Linked DNA regions of Homo sapiens: all the other regions are linked to region 1. The links are contacts of gene promoters, found by promoter capture Hi-C in blood cells and fetal thymus (Javierre and others, 2016). All regions are on one chromosome and are shown on one strand. Each heading gives the region's core, a stretch centred on a gene start or on the middle of the fragment in contact. The rest is flanking DNA. Distances are from core to core; before and after follow the strand shown.

Region 1 (4,201 bases), core at 338-2,837:
GCTCACTCAATTCCAGACACTAACATCAGGGCTTTTGCATTTAGCTGTTTCATCTGTCTGTGTGCCCTTCCTGGAACTTTGCAGGGCTTCTCCTCACTTCTTTCAGAACTCATCTAAAATCACACCCTCAGGCCTGCCTTCCTTGGGCAGCATGCTTATATTATAGCCACATTCTCCGCCTCCACCAACCCCTGCCCCCCGCCCCACTGCCACCTTTTAACCTCTCAATTTTTGTTACTTCTGACAAAGATTCTCTTCTTTGGCCAAAACTCTAGTCAGGCTCCTGTGAGTCCTCTGCCTACTAGGACTAACCGTTTGGGCTTCCTTTCTGTCCTTGTTGAATCCAGTTTGTGCAGGGACTCTCCACTCTTGGCGTCTTAATCCATTTTTTGTTGCTATAACAGAATACAAAACACTGGGTAATTCATAAAGGAAAGAAAGTTATTTTTTGCAGTTCTGGAGTCTGGGGAGCCCAAAGTCGAGGGGTTGCATTTGGTGAGGGCTTTCTTAAACTGCATGGTAGAGAGCCTCTCACGGTGAGAAAGCAAGAGCATGTGTGCCAGCTCAGATCACTCTTCCTCTTCTTATAAAGCCACCAGTCCCATCACAGGGGCCCTACCCTGACGATTTTATCTAATCCTAATCACCCCCTCAAGGCTCCACCTCCAAATACCATCAACATATGAACTTTAGGATTGAGTTTCCAACGTATGGAATTTGGGGGACACAGTCAAACCATAGCACTCGGTATCTGACCACCCTCAACATCTTAGCACCCTGTCCTGCTTTCAGCAATAATCCTGTTAGGTCAGTTTAGCAAGAAACTTCTTATCCTTGATGTTTCTCTTAGTAGTTTTCCGTCCACTGACCCTCATCCTGCTCTTTGGTTATAAATCCCCACTATATCTTGTTGGAGTCAGAGTTGAGTCTAATTCCTCTTCTTCACTGCAAGATCTGGTTGTAGTGGTCCCTGTAACTATCACCATGGGCTCTCTTACATAAAGTCTGCCTTACCATCTTTAATTAGTGCCATGAACAAATTTTCCTTTAACACTTTTCAGCATTTATTTCTCTATATTTGTCTATTGTTTGTCTGACCCACCAAGCACTGTTATGTACCGTGACTGCAGACACTTGTTCCTCATTTTATCCCACTGCTTGGTGCACAGGAGACATTTATTAAATGTTTGTTGAATGAATGAATGACAAGCACTTGTCACAACGGTAACTCTGTGAAGACTAGGATCCTATCCATTTTGTTCATTACAAAATTCCGCCTAAGCCTTGAACAAGGCTATGAGTTATAAGTGCAAAGCGATTTAGAGGAAGGAGGGGTAACTAAACTGACTGAAGAAGCTAAGGGAAGCCTCACAGATAAAATTACATCTAAACTGAAACTGAAAGGAAGGTGGAAAACTAAAAAGATCAACAAGGGAAGGACTGCAGACAGAATATCGCGAGGTATTGGTCAGCCAAGATGGCTTCTAACACTGGCCGCCACACTTAATATGGCGGCCAGGGAAATTTCCTGGAGAAAATCACGCGAGAGTTGCATCACGGCGGCTGTGCGCGAGTTAAGCTGGGGGTGTGGAGCAGCCAAGATGGAGCCGGCAGTCGGCGGTCCGGGCCCACTGATCGTGAACAACAAACAGCCCCAGCCCCCGCCACCTCCGCCGCCGGCAGCCGCACAGCCACCACCCGGGGCACCGCGGGCCGCCGCGGGCCTCCTGCCTGGGGGCAAAGCCCGCGAGTTCAACCGCAACCAGCGCAAAGACTCAGAGGTCAGGAGCTTCGGGGGGCGAGGCTCGCACCGGGTCGGGCGGCGCCGGGGGTCCCGGGCCCGGGGCCACTCTAGGGGCCAGGTTGGGCTTCCCGGAGGGCTCGGTAGAGTCCGGCCGAGAACTGTCACTATACAGCGAAAGGAGCAGGAAGCGAGGCTGGCAGCTCCTGGGGTCTGGAGCATGAGTCCTTGCTCTAGCTCCGCCGCCCGGGAGAGCTTCCCGTGGCCGGCGACTGCTGGTTTGCTCCCCTGGGCCCCGACTGTGGGCGTGGCCTCGAGGCCCTAGCCCCTGGGGAAGCCGCTCTCGCCCCAGCTCGGGGGTGAGGAGTCGGGGGTCTTGGTGCACTCCAGGGCGCTGGGCTGCCGCGCCCCCAACCTAATCATCTCGGGCGTCTGTCCCTGGCACGCGGGCTCCAGCTCCTGGGTCCTGCCGCTCGCAGAGGAAGGCGCGTGTGGGCAGGGAAGGCGCCGGCGAGGATCTGGAAGGAACTTAGAGCCGGACCGAGCTAATTATCATTGAGAGTAGAGTAGGAGGGGGAAACATGTCCTGTTCTTCTGACCTGAGCCAGATCAGGCCATGGGTTAACAGTACCTGTGGTGGGCTATTGTGCCCAGTGCGCCTGATACTGAACTGTTAAAGATGAGAAATAGACATTTTAAGCATGCGTTAGGACCCAACATTCCTTCCTGTCTCGCTAGTGAGCCGTTCCTGCCGTTCTGGAGATGGCATAGTCTGGAACTGACTAGTAACCTCACCCCAAGTTAAGGAATTCCTCCCACTGCCTCCTTTTGCAGAATTCATGAATGAAGATACTCATGTCGCGGAGTTTTAGGGCTTCTTAATGAGCAGGTTCCCAGAGCACTTACTATGCCATCTCCTAGATTGATCAGCAGCCAAACTGATCAGCCAAGTTAATGAGAGGGAATTCCTAGTTGTCCAAGCATAATGTACCAATTCATACCAAAGAGCAATGATACTACCTTTAGACCTGTGGAATCAGTTCCTCAGAAGCTTTTATTTTTTGTTAGCAAGGCTAAACCCCTGAGAAAACATGTCAACAATTGGCAAGCCCGAAGTAGACGTAATTTGAGCTTGGAGTGAATTATTTGAAAAAAACAAAAACACTGACCATTTAGGAGCCCTGGCATGGTGGGATGACGGACATCAGTGTTAACTACTCAGTTTTTCAAGTGGAAGATTACGAAAGTGCAGGGGGGTGAACCTACCTTCATCATGAGAGGAGTTATCATTTTGAAAAATGGTTTAAAATTTTCCAGAGTAGCTACGAATGGTCAAATAGATACCCTCTGACGAATTGTAATTTCTCTTTGTACCCTTTAATTTCCACATAGAGGCCGGGTGCAGTGGCTCACGCCTGTAATCCCAGCACTTGGGGAGGCCGAGGCGGGCGGATCACCTGAGGTCAGGAGTTCCTGTCCAGCCTGGCCAATGTGATCAAACCCTGTCTCTACTAAAAATACAAAAATTAGCCGGGCGTGGTGGCTGGTGCCTGTAATCCCAGCTACTCAGGAGCCTGAGACAGGAGAATTGCTTGAACCTGGGAGGTGGAGATTTGCAGTGAGCCGAGATTGCACCATTGCACTCCAGCCTGGGTGACAAGAGCGAAACTCTCCCCGTCTCAAAAAAAAAAATTTCCTCATAGACTCATTACATGAAAGACCAGTCAAATGGACACATTTAAGCAGAGACCTGTCTAAATCCATTTCTTTATAGAGAGTCTGATGCCATGATCTTTCTTTAGTCATAGCTGAAATCGGTAGTTTGGGAGCCTGATCAGTGAATGCCTGGAGGACAGGGAGGCTCACATTTGATGAGAGCCCACTATGTACTACATAATTTTGATTAGTCCTTAAAAATCTTCAAAGTAGATTTTCATCATTGCCATTCAATGAATGAAGAAACCGAAGCTCAGTAACTTGTGAAAGTGTACACTGTGTTATCTCTGAACACAACGTGGAGTTCTTGTTTGTGGGTATGTTTTTTGTTTTGTTTTGTTTTGTTTTGAGACAGAGTCTCTGTCTGTCTCCCAAGCTGGAGTGTAGTGGCGCGATCTTGGCTCACTGCAACCTCCACTTCCGGGGCTCAAGCGATTCTCCTGCCTTAGCCTCCCGAGTAGCTGGGACTACAGGCACGCCCCACCATGTAAAAATATATTTTTAAAAAATTTTATATTTTTATTAGAGACGGGGTTTTACCATGTTGGCCAGGCTGGTTTCAAAGTCCTGACCTCAAATGACCCGCCCACCTCGGCCTCCCAAAGTGCTGGGATTATAGGCATGAGCCACCTCGCCTGGCCATTGTGGGTATGTTGTGTCATTTTGTGGCTGGTCTTTGTCTTCCCAGGTAGACTGTAATTAAACCTAAGGACTTTACCTATTTGTTTCTCACTTCTCTCTTCC
Region 2 (3,959 bases), core at 379-2,878, 260 kb before region 1:
AGTGGGCAGCAGCTGGAGCCAGGAGCCCTGGCCTCCCCAACTCTGCCCCTCAGTGGATTCTGTGCCAGGAATATTTGTCCATATAGACACCTATGCAGACAGACCAAAGGGCTCCCAGAAGGAGCTGGTGAGCTTGGCCTGTGGCTCTGCAGACCTTCCCATCAGGCTGAAGGGGTCCCGCCCTGCGAAGAACATAGGCCACCAAAGATCTTGCCCTGAGAGGCCTACCCAGAATTCCAGAACTGTCCCCAGTGGATGTAGGCAGCTGTGGAACAGTGGGTAGGGGACCGCCCCTCCACCAGTGATCTGAGATCCAGAGGCCCTCAGAGAAAATGCCGGGACTCTCCAGCCCCAGGGCAGCTGGGAGACCATGGGGAGGACGGTGACCTCTGTGATTCAAGGCAGGCATCCACTGTGTCTGGCCCTTCAGTCCTCTCAGAATGTGGCCCTCTGGACTGGACGGGGCCGAGAGAGACCCACCATCCCTCAATTCCCGACTCCCTGAGGCCATCCCTCAGACAGGGTGCTCACAGCCAGCCAAGGCAGGCCCTGTCTCAACTGGCCAGCTCTGACCATTAGAACATTCTTCCTTAGGCCAAGCTCAGACCTGCATTCCTGGAGCGTCCCTGCAATGTGCCCCTCTCTGACGGCAAGCCCTTCAGATATTTAGAGATGGTATCACGCCCTCCTGGAGCTGCCCAGAGACCATCAGAGCCAGAGCCCCTGGGTTCAAATTAAACTCTTGGAACCTCAGTTTCCTCATCTATGAAATGGAGACAACCATGGCCTCTATTTATGGAACGCACGCCCTGGCCAGGCATTGCATTAAGCATGCCACGTGCCTAGCACATAGACATTTATTAAGGCTTCCAGATCCTTGGCCAGACGAGTGGCACTGGTTCCTGGCTGTCTGCGGAGAGGTGCCGGCTCCCTCTGCTGGAAATAGTGAGTCGCAGTCAGGACGGGAGAGGACAACGTAGAACTGCACTCTGGGTGGGAGGGACCTCAGAGATGACCTGGCCCAACATGGTGTTTTACAGATGAGGAAACTGAGGCCAAGGGTGGCCGCCTCACTGGATGACCTCTTTGAAGTTTGCCTGTGTGGGTCCCAGATTGGGGCACTCTCTCCTGCCCCCCAACCATGTGCTGCAGAGAGGAGCTGGGCAGTTTGGTTCTAATGGGCTCCCTGACTTCTGAACCTCACTTTCCATTCCAGCCCACCTCATCCCTCTGGGACTACTGGGTGGAGTGTTGGGAAGGACACCGCCAGGATGCAGGCACAGGGCAGGGGCAGGGGCTCCAGCTGTGCACTTCCTTCCCCCAGCAAGCTGCAGTTCCAGGGAAGGTCCTGAGGGCAAGGCAGGAGGTCAGGAGGGTGGGGCGTCAGGAGGGCTGGGCTGTGGCATCCACCCACCCACACCATGCCTGGGAAGGACAGAGCCCACAGAGCTGGGGTCTCCCAGCCGGTGCCACTCGGGGAAGCGAAAGGGAGCTGCACAGACATCTAGGTCCAGGCTGCATTTGCTCATCCAGCTGGTAATATGACTGATGGGTAGAGAGGTCCAAAGGGACTTCCAGTGGGGACACTGGCAGACTTGGAAGATTCTGGAAACTTGTAGCTTCTCCGTGCTTGCTGTTCATGGTACTAGCTCTCTGCTAGGAGCTATGTGATGTGCTTTATGGTTATTATTTTTCTTTTCTTTTTTGAGATGGCGTCTTGCTCTGTCACCCAGGCTGGAGTGCAGTGACGTGATCACGGCTCAAGTGATCCTTCCACCTCAGCTTCCTGAGTAGTTAGGACTAGAAGGGTGTACCACCACACCCAGCTAATTTTAAACTTTTTTGTAGAGACAGGATCTTGCTATGTTGCCTAGGCTAGTCTTGAACTCCTGGCCTCAAACGATCCTCCTGCCTTGGCCTCCCAAACTGCTGGCATGACAGGCATGAGTCACTGTTCCCGGCCTCTTTTCAATAATACTACAACGTAGGTATTATTAGGTCCATTTCATGAATGGGGAAACTGAGGCTTGGAGATTTAAAGAAATGGTCAGGTATCTAGAAGAGCTGTCATGAGCCCATGTCCTCTGACGTGAATGCCTTTTCACTAACTGCATTGCCTCTCATCTGTTCTTGTCTCTGTACCCTCAGTGAATAGCCATGGAGCTCCTAAAAAGAATGGGACCTTTCACTTGACCTCCCTTCTCTCCCTTGCCTACTGCCCCTGAGCGAGTGCTTCAGCTACAGTCTGGGAGCCGAAGATGCCTGTGTTTGATGCCTCCAGCACCCTGTCTCTGCATCTTGAATCCAGCCACGTGACCATCTCTTGCCCACCTTTGGCCAATGTCCCTGAGACATTTCAAGTGCATCATGCTGCAGACTGGTGTTGCTGTCTCCACAATACCGCGCTTCCCCTGTGTCCCCATCTCAGTCTTTGGTCCCACTATCCACTTCCCACATGCAGCCATTGAGTCCTCTATTTTTCTTCCTTAAATCTCCAGAATCTGCTGACAGTTTTACTTCTCTGTTATTATTGCTTTAATTCAGACCCCCCCCCCCACAATCCTTTACCCCTTATTCCCCCACACCCTCCCGAGCCTTTCCTGCCATCTCCTTTCCAGGGGATACTCCCTTCTGAGCTCTCTCCAGCTCTGCCCAACAGAGTTTTCTAAAATTCCAATCTGCACATGTCACTCCCTGGCTTATAAATCCTTCAGTTGCTCCCATGCTTTAAAAGAAAATCATACACCTTGACTTTGCACATGGCATTTGAGCTCTGCCTCTGCTGGTTACCAGGTCTCACCCTTCTGCTGCAAACCCAGACACAAAGACAACCCAAAGCTCCCTGAAGGCACCTGCAGCACTTTGCCTCTCCACACCTTGCTGCTGCGTCGGCCTCCCTGCTTTCTTTGCTTGGCCAAAGCCTCATCTTCCCTGCCATCTCACCTCAAACATCTCTGCCTCTAGAAGGCTCCCTGGACTCCCCTCACCCCTCAGCTGGTTTGGCGGTTGTGATCTGAGATAGCACACCTCTTCTTATATCTCTGTCCAAAACCTTAATGTAAGACATTGGTGAATACCTTAATTTTCTCTTCCACTAAGTGATGTTACTTTGAGCAGGTTTTATGTCTTTTTTGTGGGATACCCACAGTCAGGCCAGTGCCTGGCACCTAATAGGTGATTGCTGAGTCAGTGAACAAGTAAACAAATGAATGAAGAAGGTAGAAAGGAAACAGAAGTTAGGAGGGCAGAAGTGGCTGGGAATGGAGACAGTGGCCTGGAAACCTCCTGGAGGAGGGGTCAGCATCCCTTGGTCACAAATTTCTCTCCTACCTGGCTGCACATTAGGGGGACTCTCCGCTCTTTCCTGCCTCTCCCTGGCAGACTAGTGACTCCTGGACACCAGTAGTGGGAAGGCAAGGGGCCTGGAGGCTGGTCAGAGACCCACACAGAGACCATCCTTTTCCCTTCCCAAGGGACGCTGCCAGCCTCTGCAAGAAGACTACCCAAAGGCTGGTGGATGGCATGGAAACATGAGTGCTGGAATGCGATCGCCTTTCCCGCCCAGCACTGATTATGCACCATCTGTGTTCTGGGGCCTGTGCTGAAACTCTGAGCTTGTGCACATTCCAATGTGATGCCATCCTTTGGCTTAGTTTCAGATGAGACTAGGGTGGGCACAAGCCACAGGTGGCAAGATTGAGCTCTAGGCAATGAGTGCCAGGGGACAAAGGTGAGGATGCCGGGGCTGCACAGTCAGCAAGGAGGTGGACTGAGTCTTGAAGCAGAGTGGAAAGGCAAGGGCATTGCTGGCAAGAGGGATGGCCTTTGTAGAGGCTGGAGGTCAGGACACACAGGGACAAAGAACAGCTGGATTACCTGGGCCTGAGGCTTTGGGATGGAGTGGTAGGAAATAAATTTGGAAAGAGTCATTGGAACCAGGTCCTGGAGGAATTTGCTAG
Region 3 (4,233 bases), core at 1,372-3,871, 450 kb before region 1:
TAAGGTGTCTTAGAGTTGAGCCTAGTCTACCGCCATGCCACCCTGAATGCGCCTGATCTCAGAAGCTAAATGAGAGTGGGTTGAGCCTAAATATTACTAGAAAGAATACAGGAAAGGATCATAAAGGAGGAAATATTACTAGGTAAAAACCATTAGAGCTGGAGACCCAGAGTTTGGCAAAAATAATTTGAGTGCACCATGGATGGTTTTGTTTTGCTAAGGTGGATGCACAAGTTCTGGTAATTCACAAGTCTTTGGAGTTTTAGGTTGTGAGTTCACCTGTGGTCTGAAATGACTTTTGCTTGTTAGTTTATTTGTCTTGATGACTACTTAAGATACAAATGATTGCTCCCCTTTCTCCTTTACTTTTTCTTTACACGTTATATACTTTTTAAATTTTTTATTTTTATAGTTATTTGGAATCTCTCAAGGTAGATAAATATTAGATGTGGATGGGAAAATCATCCCGTGAGACCTGTGTTTAATTTTAAACCAACAAGTAGGGATGGATAGAATAAAGGAAAACAATAAAAATCTCATAATCCATTTCTGTCCTCTCCCTCACATATTTTATGTTTAAAAACTATAACCACCTAGAAAACTATGGCTATGTCTGGGCCCAGTGGCTCACGCCTGTAATCCCAGCACTTTGGGAGGCTGAGGCGAGTGGATCACCTGAGGTCAGGTGTTCGAGACCAGCCTGGCCAACATGGCGAAACCCCTCTCTACTAAAAATAGAAAAATTAGCTGGGCATGGTGGCAGATGCCTGTAATCCCAGCTACTTGGGAGGCTGAGGCAGGAGAATCGCTAGAACCCAGGAGGCGGAGGTTACAAGGAGCCGAGATCACATCATTGCACTCCAGCCTGAGTGACAAGAGCGAAACTCCGTCTCAAAAAAAAAAAAAAAAAAAAAGAAAAGAAATAAAGAAAACCATGGCTATGACTCATGAAGTTATGGTTACTTTCTTTTCCTCCTGCTCCCTTCCTTTCCCTCTCTCAGAACATTATTATTATTCCTTATTCCTTTAGGGAAATCTAGGGACTGTTTGAATCTTTCCCTGAGGGATTTATTTCCCCCATTAGGCTTCTAGACCTTAAGTGCCTCCATCTCCTCTTCTTGTTCTACTGTCTGGGCTGAAGGCAAAGAAGAGAATACTTTTTTCTTAAACTTGATTAATGTTTTACTCCCTTTGAGGTGTTTAGACTTTACCTCTTATGTGCTAGTCTTTTTATTTCTATTTTTAGTGTAGGCTTCCTTTAATAGAACGGGAATGTTTTACATAATCCTGTCTCATAAACCAGTTTTTTTCTCTCAAAAATTATTAGCAATCTGGATGGAGATTTGTGGGCTGGCCAGAAATGATCTTTTCTGGGGATGGTGGTGTGTGGAGGAGTGGTGGGGAAGTAAAATCATTCCTCAGCTCAGTTCTGGACTTAAAACTGTAGTGAAATGAGAATAAGGAAAGACTTAATTATAAATTCTGTCATGCTGGCCTGTCAGAAAAGGTCTCTGTAACAACACCTCTTTTAACATAACATGTAATGTGTCTATATTTTAAAGAGACTGTCATCAAGTCTTAAAGAAATGGAGAGTCATCTGTCTCTTTCTTAACTGCTTTCTTCAGGATGATGCCCGGCAATTATTTGTTTTAGCTGGCAGTGCTGAAGAAGGAGTCATGACTCCAGAACTAGCAGGAGTGATTAAACGGTTATGGCGAGATGGTGGGGTACAAGCTTGCTTCAGCAGATCCAGGGAATATCAGCTCAATGATTCTGCTTCATAGTAAGTAATTTTTCTCTGTGAAACTATAACAGAGAATAACTTGGTGACACTACAGAAATTTTAGTCCCCACTTAAGGAAATGTTTAAGTAATAGACACTCTTAGACGTTTATAGGATACTTTATAAAAATTGTCTAAGTTTAGGATTATAGAGCCCTTGGTCATTTGTATGATTTGGAGAAAAAAGTTCCCTCTTGGAATGTAAATGGGAGACTTGGCACCACAAAATTAGTTCCATGGCATTTTATTATAAGCAAGTGAAGGAGGAGAGACATCTGTTGTGGCTGGGTTCTGAATCTGTTCCAACTCATAAGTTCCCTCTGTGTAAGGGCTTGGCACTGATAGCCAGCTAGAGAGGGAAATTAGAATAGTGGTATTCCTTTTTATGCAGCCAGCTCTCTGTGTCTGGGCCGCACTATGGACTTCACTAGTAACCCTTTTGCCAGATCACAGTAGTAGACTTTGTATAGAAAGAGAAGGTTGAGTCATGGAATGAAGTTGAAGTATCTTTTTGTCAAGGATATTATCTTGAGTGTTAATATAGTTTTAGAGAATTTGTAATGAATACTTATATTAAGCTATTACATGTTATCCTATTTTACCTCTTTTACATATACTTATTTATGAAACCTAGATTCAGAATGTATTTTTTTTGTTTTGAGACGGAGTCTCGCTCTGTCGCCCAGACTGGAGTGCAGTGGCTCCATCTCCGCTCACTGCAAGCTCCACCTCCCAGGTTCACACCATTCTCCTGCCTCAGCCTCCCAAGTAACTGGGACTACAGGCGCCCGCCACCATGCCCGGCTAATTTGTATTTTTAGTAGAGACGGGGTTTCAACGTGTTAGCCAGGATGGTCTCGATCTCCTGACCTCGTGATCCACCCACCTCTGCCTCCCAAAGTGCTGGGATTACAGGCGTGAGCCACCGTGCCTGGTCCGGAATGTATTTTTTTTTAATGTACTTTTGCGGGGCCTGGTGAGCACTTGTTATCTGTATTTCTCTCTGTACTGGATGAGGGCACGTTTAAGCATTAAAGTTTTTTCTCCAATATTACTGTTTTCCTACTTTTCACGTCATGATTCTAGCTTAAATTGTTACAAGAAGAAATTAAATGATATAGTCAGGCTGTGCATAAGGACAGGGATACTTTCTGAAAAATGCATCATTAGGTGATTTGTCATTGTGTGAACATTGTAGAGTATGCGTACACAGAATTAGATGGTATAGCCTACTACACACCTAAGCTATATGGTATAGCCTGTTGCTCCTAGGCTATGAACCTGTACAGCATGTTATTGTACTAAATACTGTAGGCAATTGTAACATAATGGTAAGTATTTGTGTATCTCAGCATCTCTAAACATATAAAAGGGTAATGCAATGGCTATGATGTCACTGGGGCTAGGAGTGTTTCAGCTCCATTATAATCTTACAGGATCACTAGCATACATTTATACAGTCTGTTGTTGACCAAAACATTGTTATGCAGCACATGACTGTATTTGAAAACTTGCTTATTCTTTCAATGAGAACTTGGCTTTAGAAACGTTTCAGGATTCTTGCCTACCTTTTAATAACATCTTAGTTGCAAGTATTGATAGCTTAAATAATTCTACCAGTGGTCATCAAAGGTAGATTATAATTGCTTTTTTTCATCTTTCATTCAGAAAGCTCTGAATCCTCTAACTACATGTGCTTATAGAGATTTTCATAACTGTTGATCTAAGCTTGCCTCTTTACATTAGTGATAGTATTTGGTTTTATAGATCATTAATGATTCACTTACATTGGTGCCATCTGCTCATCAGTTTTCTAGCCTGGAATCAGCAAAGAATACAGTTTTGAAGCAGTCTTTTAATTATTTCCCTGAACAAATTAATTTTTTTGGAGGTATTTACAATTTGTTTTTGATTTAGATTAAAAAAAAAAACCCCAGACCTCCCCAGCTCTTCTGTTTACTGAAAGAAAACGGAAAATATTCTTACTCACTATAGTTCTCTCAATTTTAGTTAATCAAACACCATTCTCTAATGTCCTGTCAAATGGTTAAACACGCATGACCTATTGAGTTTAATTGTCTGAGGACTTTTGGTATAGTTTGGTTTTGATATTATACAGTACACAGTTGATTTAGTATTACATTTCAGGAATTTTTCTTTAATAAGAACATTTCCTGTTCCTATTGTTTTAATTTTTTAAATTGGCCTTCACAATTTAATTCTGTAGAATTAAACCTACTTTTGTGTCCGGGCGCGGTTGCTCACGCCTGTAATCCCAGCACTTTGGGAGGCCGAGACAGACGAATCACCTGAGGTCAGGAGTTTGAGACCAGCCTGGCCAACATGGTGAAACCCCATCTCTACTAAAAATACAAAAAATTAGCTGGGCGTAGTGGCGGGCACCTGTAATCCCAGCTGTTCAGGAGGCTGAGGCAGGAGAATCATTTGAA
Region 4 (3,798 bases), core at 427-2,926, 480 kb before region 1:
CACATAGGAAATTAAAATTATCTTCTATGCTATTTCTATAAGCAAAATGTACCCAAAACAGTATACAGTTTTCTTTTTCCTGGATAATGTCTCCTTTGCTGTAGATGCAAGTCATTTTTACTTTATCACTATGGAACTTAGTTTAAGTTGAGATCTATCTACTTACCCTGTGTCTCCTGACACATGATATATTTTCTTTCTTATGGGGGTGTAGTTTAACATGGTGATTAATAGCATGGGTCCTGAAGTCAGACTGCTTTAAATCCTAATTCCCATTTACTAGTTATAGCCTTGGGAAAGTTAATTTCTCTTGGCCTCAGTTTTCTTATCTTTAAAATGGAGAAAATAGAGCTACTCCTAGGATTGCTGTGAGGATTAAATATGGTAATAATGTAAAGCAGAACACAGCTTGGCACATAGTACTAGCTCCATGAAGATTAGCTATTCTTATTAAGTCAAAATGAATGTTACAGATTGTAGGTATTATGGAAATTATACCAAATTAAGCAGCTAGTGTGGGCCAGATTATTTACAGACACTTCAGTATTGTAATTCTTCCTTTGATAACCTTTGGTTTGAATTTCATTTAGATGTTCTTGGAAAGGGCTGGGCGTGGTGGCTCCTGGCTGTAATCCCATCACTTTGGGAGGCCGAGGCTGGTGGATCACCTGAGGTCAGGAGTTCGAGACCAGCCTGGCCAACATGGCGAAACCCCATCTCTACTAAAAGTACAAAAATTAGCCGGGCGTGGTGGTGTGCACCTGTAGTCCCAGCTACTTGGGAGGCTGAGGCAGGAGAATCGCTTGAACCCGGGAGGTGGAGGTTGCAGTGAGCAGAGATGACGCCACTGCACTCTAGCCTGGGTGACAAAGTGAGACTCTTTGTCTCAAAAAAAAAAAAAATAAAGTGTTCTTGGGAAGATCTTGGTATATCAAATTAGTGTTTAATTATGACATTCTATTGAAAAAATACCATGCAAAGCTTCCCAACCAATGTTCCAGTGCTTAGGATGGCATATAGGTGTGCTGTTTACAAATTTTTTATAGCATTGAAATTTTAAATCATTTTTATAAGTTCAAACTTTTACAACAGTTGAAATTACATTTGAACATCTTTGGTATGATTTCCTCTTGTATAATTCATGAATTTGGTAATTTGGTTATTTACTATTTAAACAATTAGAGATGGGGGTCTCATTATGTTGCCCAGGCTGGTCTCAAATGCTTGGCCTCATGTGATTCTCCCATCTCAGCCTCCCAAAGTGCTGGGATTACCAGTGTGAGCCACTGTGCCTACCCTACCATGAATTTGGTAATTTGAAAAAATTTTATTTGGTATAAATACTAAATTTATACCAATTTAATATTTAATATCATTTGTAATACTTTGTATTTTTTTCATGCCATAATTTCATAATAAGAAATTTTGTGTGTGCGGGTTTTGTTTTTGTTTTTTTTTGACCCCAGGGCAAGCAAGAAAATTTTTTTTCACCAAGCTCTTTCAGCTCACCCCAATGAGCCTTACAAATATTTTTAATGTGTGCCATCATGTGACAAAGGTTGGGAAGCACTGGTATAATGGATAAGAGCACTGCTTTTGGATTCACACAAAACTGAATTTAAGTTCTACCTCCACTTATTAGCTCTGAGACCCAGAGCAAGTAACTTAACCATAAGAATAATAATTTTTACATATGTAAAGCAGAGATGATGTTTCATAATATGAAATGAGATAATGCATGTAAAATGCTTCACATTAGTGCCTAGCAAATAAAAAATAGTAAGTGGTCACTTCTATTGATGATGATGATCGTGAGAATTACCATTTTAGCTACTTTTTTCAGAGGTTTTTCAGACAGCTGTTTTATTATTTTTCATATTAATATACTATTTTCAAAGATCTTCAAAGAATTTTAATATCCTTTTGTGGTGAAAGGAATTAAATGTTAGTCCTTTTTTTTTACTCATCACTGTACTAATGAAGATACTTAGTTTTGTAAATTATTGAATTATCTGCTCTCTGTATTTCTGTTTCTTGATAGTTTCCTTTAGCAGGTTCTGAGAAAACATAAAAAAAAACTTTGTTCTTTGGGATTTGCTGGTGGTAGTATGGCAAAAAGCCAGTTGCATGCAGAGAACTGGAATCATCTAATTTACTTAAACTCTATATTATACAGTTAATTATATTTAAATTGCTGCATATTATTGGCTGAATATGCTTATTATTGAGAATAAGACTGCCCTTTGGTAAACATGCCATTACATTATATCCTCCTATGGGATTATACCCTTTATTATGTTTGCCATTTGCTTGGGATAAGGTTCATGGCCAGTTACATTTCATGTGAGGATGCATCTGTGTTTCGGGGAAAAAAAGCTTTGTGTTTTATAAGCATGTATCATTCTTTGTGTCTTTTATTTAAATGCATTAGTCACTTTTTTAACATTTCAATAGGTTTTTGGGGAACAGGTTATGTTTGGTTACGTGAATAAGTTTAGTGGCAATTTCTGAGATTTTGGTGCACCCATCACCTGAGCAGTCTACACTGTACCCAATGTATAGTCCTTTATCCCTCACCACCTTCCCACCCTTTCCCCCGAGTCCCCAAAGTCCGTTGTATCATTCTTAGGCCTTTGCATCCTCATAGCTTAGCATCCACTTACAAGTGAGAACGTACGATGTTTGGTTTTCCATTCCTGAGTTACTTCACTTAGAGTAATCGTCTCCAGTTCCATCCAGGTTGCTGCAGATGCCATTATTTCATTCCTTTTTATGGCTGAGTAGTGTTCCATGGGTGTAGAGGGGTGTGTGTGTGTGTGTGTGTGTATATCACATTTTCTTTATCCACTCGTTGATTGATGGGCATTTGGGCTGGTTCCATATTTTTGCCATTGTGAATTGTGCTGCTATAAACATGCGTATGCAAGTATCTTTTTTGTATAATGGCTTCTTTCCTCAGGGTAGATACTCAGGAGTGAGATTGGTGCATCAAATGGTAGATATACTTTTAGTTCTTTAAGGAACCTACACACTGTTTCCCATAGTGGTTGTACTAGTTTACATTCCCACCAACAGCGTGAAGGTGTTCCCTTTTCATCACATCCACACCAACATCTATTTTTTTTTTATTATGGCCATTATTGCAGGAGTAAGGTGGTATCACATTGTAGTTTTGATTTGTAGTTCCTGATAATTAGTGATGTTGAGCATGTTTTCGTAAGTTTGCTGGCCATTTGTATATCTTGTGAGAATTGTCTATTCAAGTCCTTAGCCCACTTTTTGATGGGATTGTTTTTTTCGTGCTGATTTGATTTCCTTGTAGATTCTGGATATTAGTCCTTTGTCAGATGTATAGATTGTGAAGATTTTCTCCCACTCTGGGTTGTCTGTACTCTGCTGATTTCTTTTGTTGCTCAGAAGCTTTTTAGTTTAGTTGAGTCCCATTTATTTATTTTTATTTTTGTCTTTGCATTTGCTTTTGGGTTCTTGGTTGTGAAGTCTTTGCCTAAGCCAATGGCTAGAAGGGTTTTTCCAATGTTATCTTCTAGAATTTTTATGGTTTTGGGTCTTAGATTTAAGTCAGTAGCCCTATACACCAACAGCAACCAAGCTGAGAATCAAATCAAGAACTCAACCTTTTACAGTAGCTGCAAACAAAAAACAAACAAACAAACAATACTTAGGAATATACTTGACCAAGAAGGTGAAACACCTCTACAAGGAAAACTACAAAACACGGCTGACAGAAATCATAGATGATACAAACAAATGGAAACACGTCCCATGCTCATGGATGGG

Evidence for each region. Contacts are between HindIII fragments. The CHiCAGO score rates a contact against its expected background, and 5 or more counts as called.
Region 2: a contact is called between a fragment that was not itself captured here and the fragment with the promoter of STRIP1 in region 1, in 2 of 17 cell types (total B cells and M0 macrophages). The highest score is 6.4, in total B cells.
Region 3: a contact is called between a fragment that was not itself captured here and the fragment with the promoter of STRIP1 in region 1, in 1 of 17 cell types (M2 macrophages). The highest score is 5.4, in M2 macrophages.
Region 4: a fragment that was not itself captured here is called in contact with the fragment with the promoter of STRIP1 in region 1 in 4 of 17 cell types (non-activated CD4 T cells, fetal thymus, activated CD4 T cells and 1 more); the score reaches 6.4 in non-activated CD4 T cells.

The regions. Positions count from the first base shown.
Region 1 is chr1:110,033,037-110,037,237 of GRCh38, forward strand. STRIP1 (striatin interacting protein 1) reads left to right here and starts at 1,588. Exons shown (of 21, transcript NM_033088.4): 1 at 1,588-1,781. The coding sequence starts at 1,602. LOC105378895 (a long non-coding RNA gene) reads right to left here and starts at 2,403. Exons shown (of 3, transcript XR_947693.3): 1 at 2,373-2,403; 2 at 313-395. RefSeq lists an enhancer at 1,263-1,652 and silencers at 1,653-1,872, 2,113-2,182. The HindIII fragment of the contact is 6,759 bases long and covers 1-2,790 here.
Region 2 is chr1:109,772,924-109,776,882 of GRCh38, forward strand. It overlaps LOC124904258 (a long non-coding RNA gene), which reads left to right. Exons shown (of 2, transcript XR_007066303.1): 2 at 2,149-2,505. Among named protein-coding and RNA genes, the nearest start is that of EPS8L3, 11 kb to the left of the region's middle. The HindIII fragment of the contact is 6,340 bases long and covers 1-3,959 here.
Region 3 is chr1:109,577,578-109,581,810 of GRCh38, forward strand. It overlaps GNAI3 (G protein subunit alpha i3), which reads left to right. Exons shown (of 9, transcript NM_006496.4): 4 at 1,627-1,784. Among named protein-coding and RNA genes, the nearest start is that of MIR197, 19 kb to the right of the region's middle. The HindIII fragment of the contact is 1,776 bases long and covers 1,734-3,509 here.
Region 4 is chr1:109,551,276-109,555,073 of GRCh38, forward strand. All of the region lies in intron 1 of GNAI3 (G protein subunit alpha i3), which reads left to right. Among named protein-coding and RNA genes, the nearest start is that of GNAI3, 4.6 kb to the left of the region's middle. The HindIII fragment of the contact is 1,395 bases long and covers 980-2,374 here.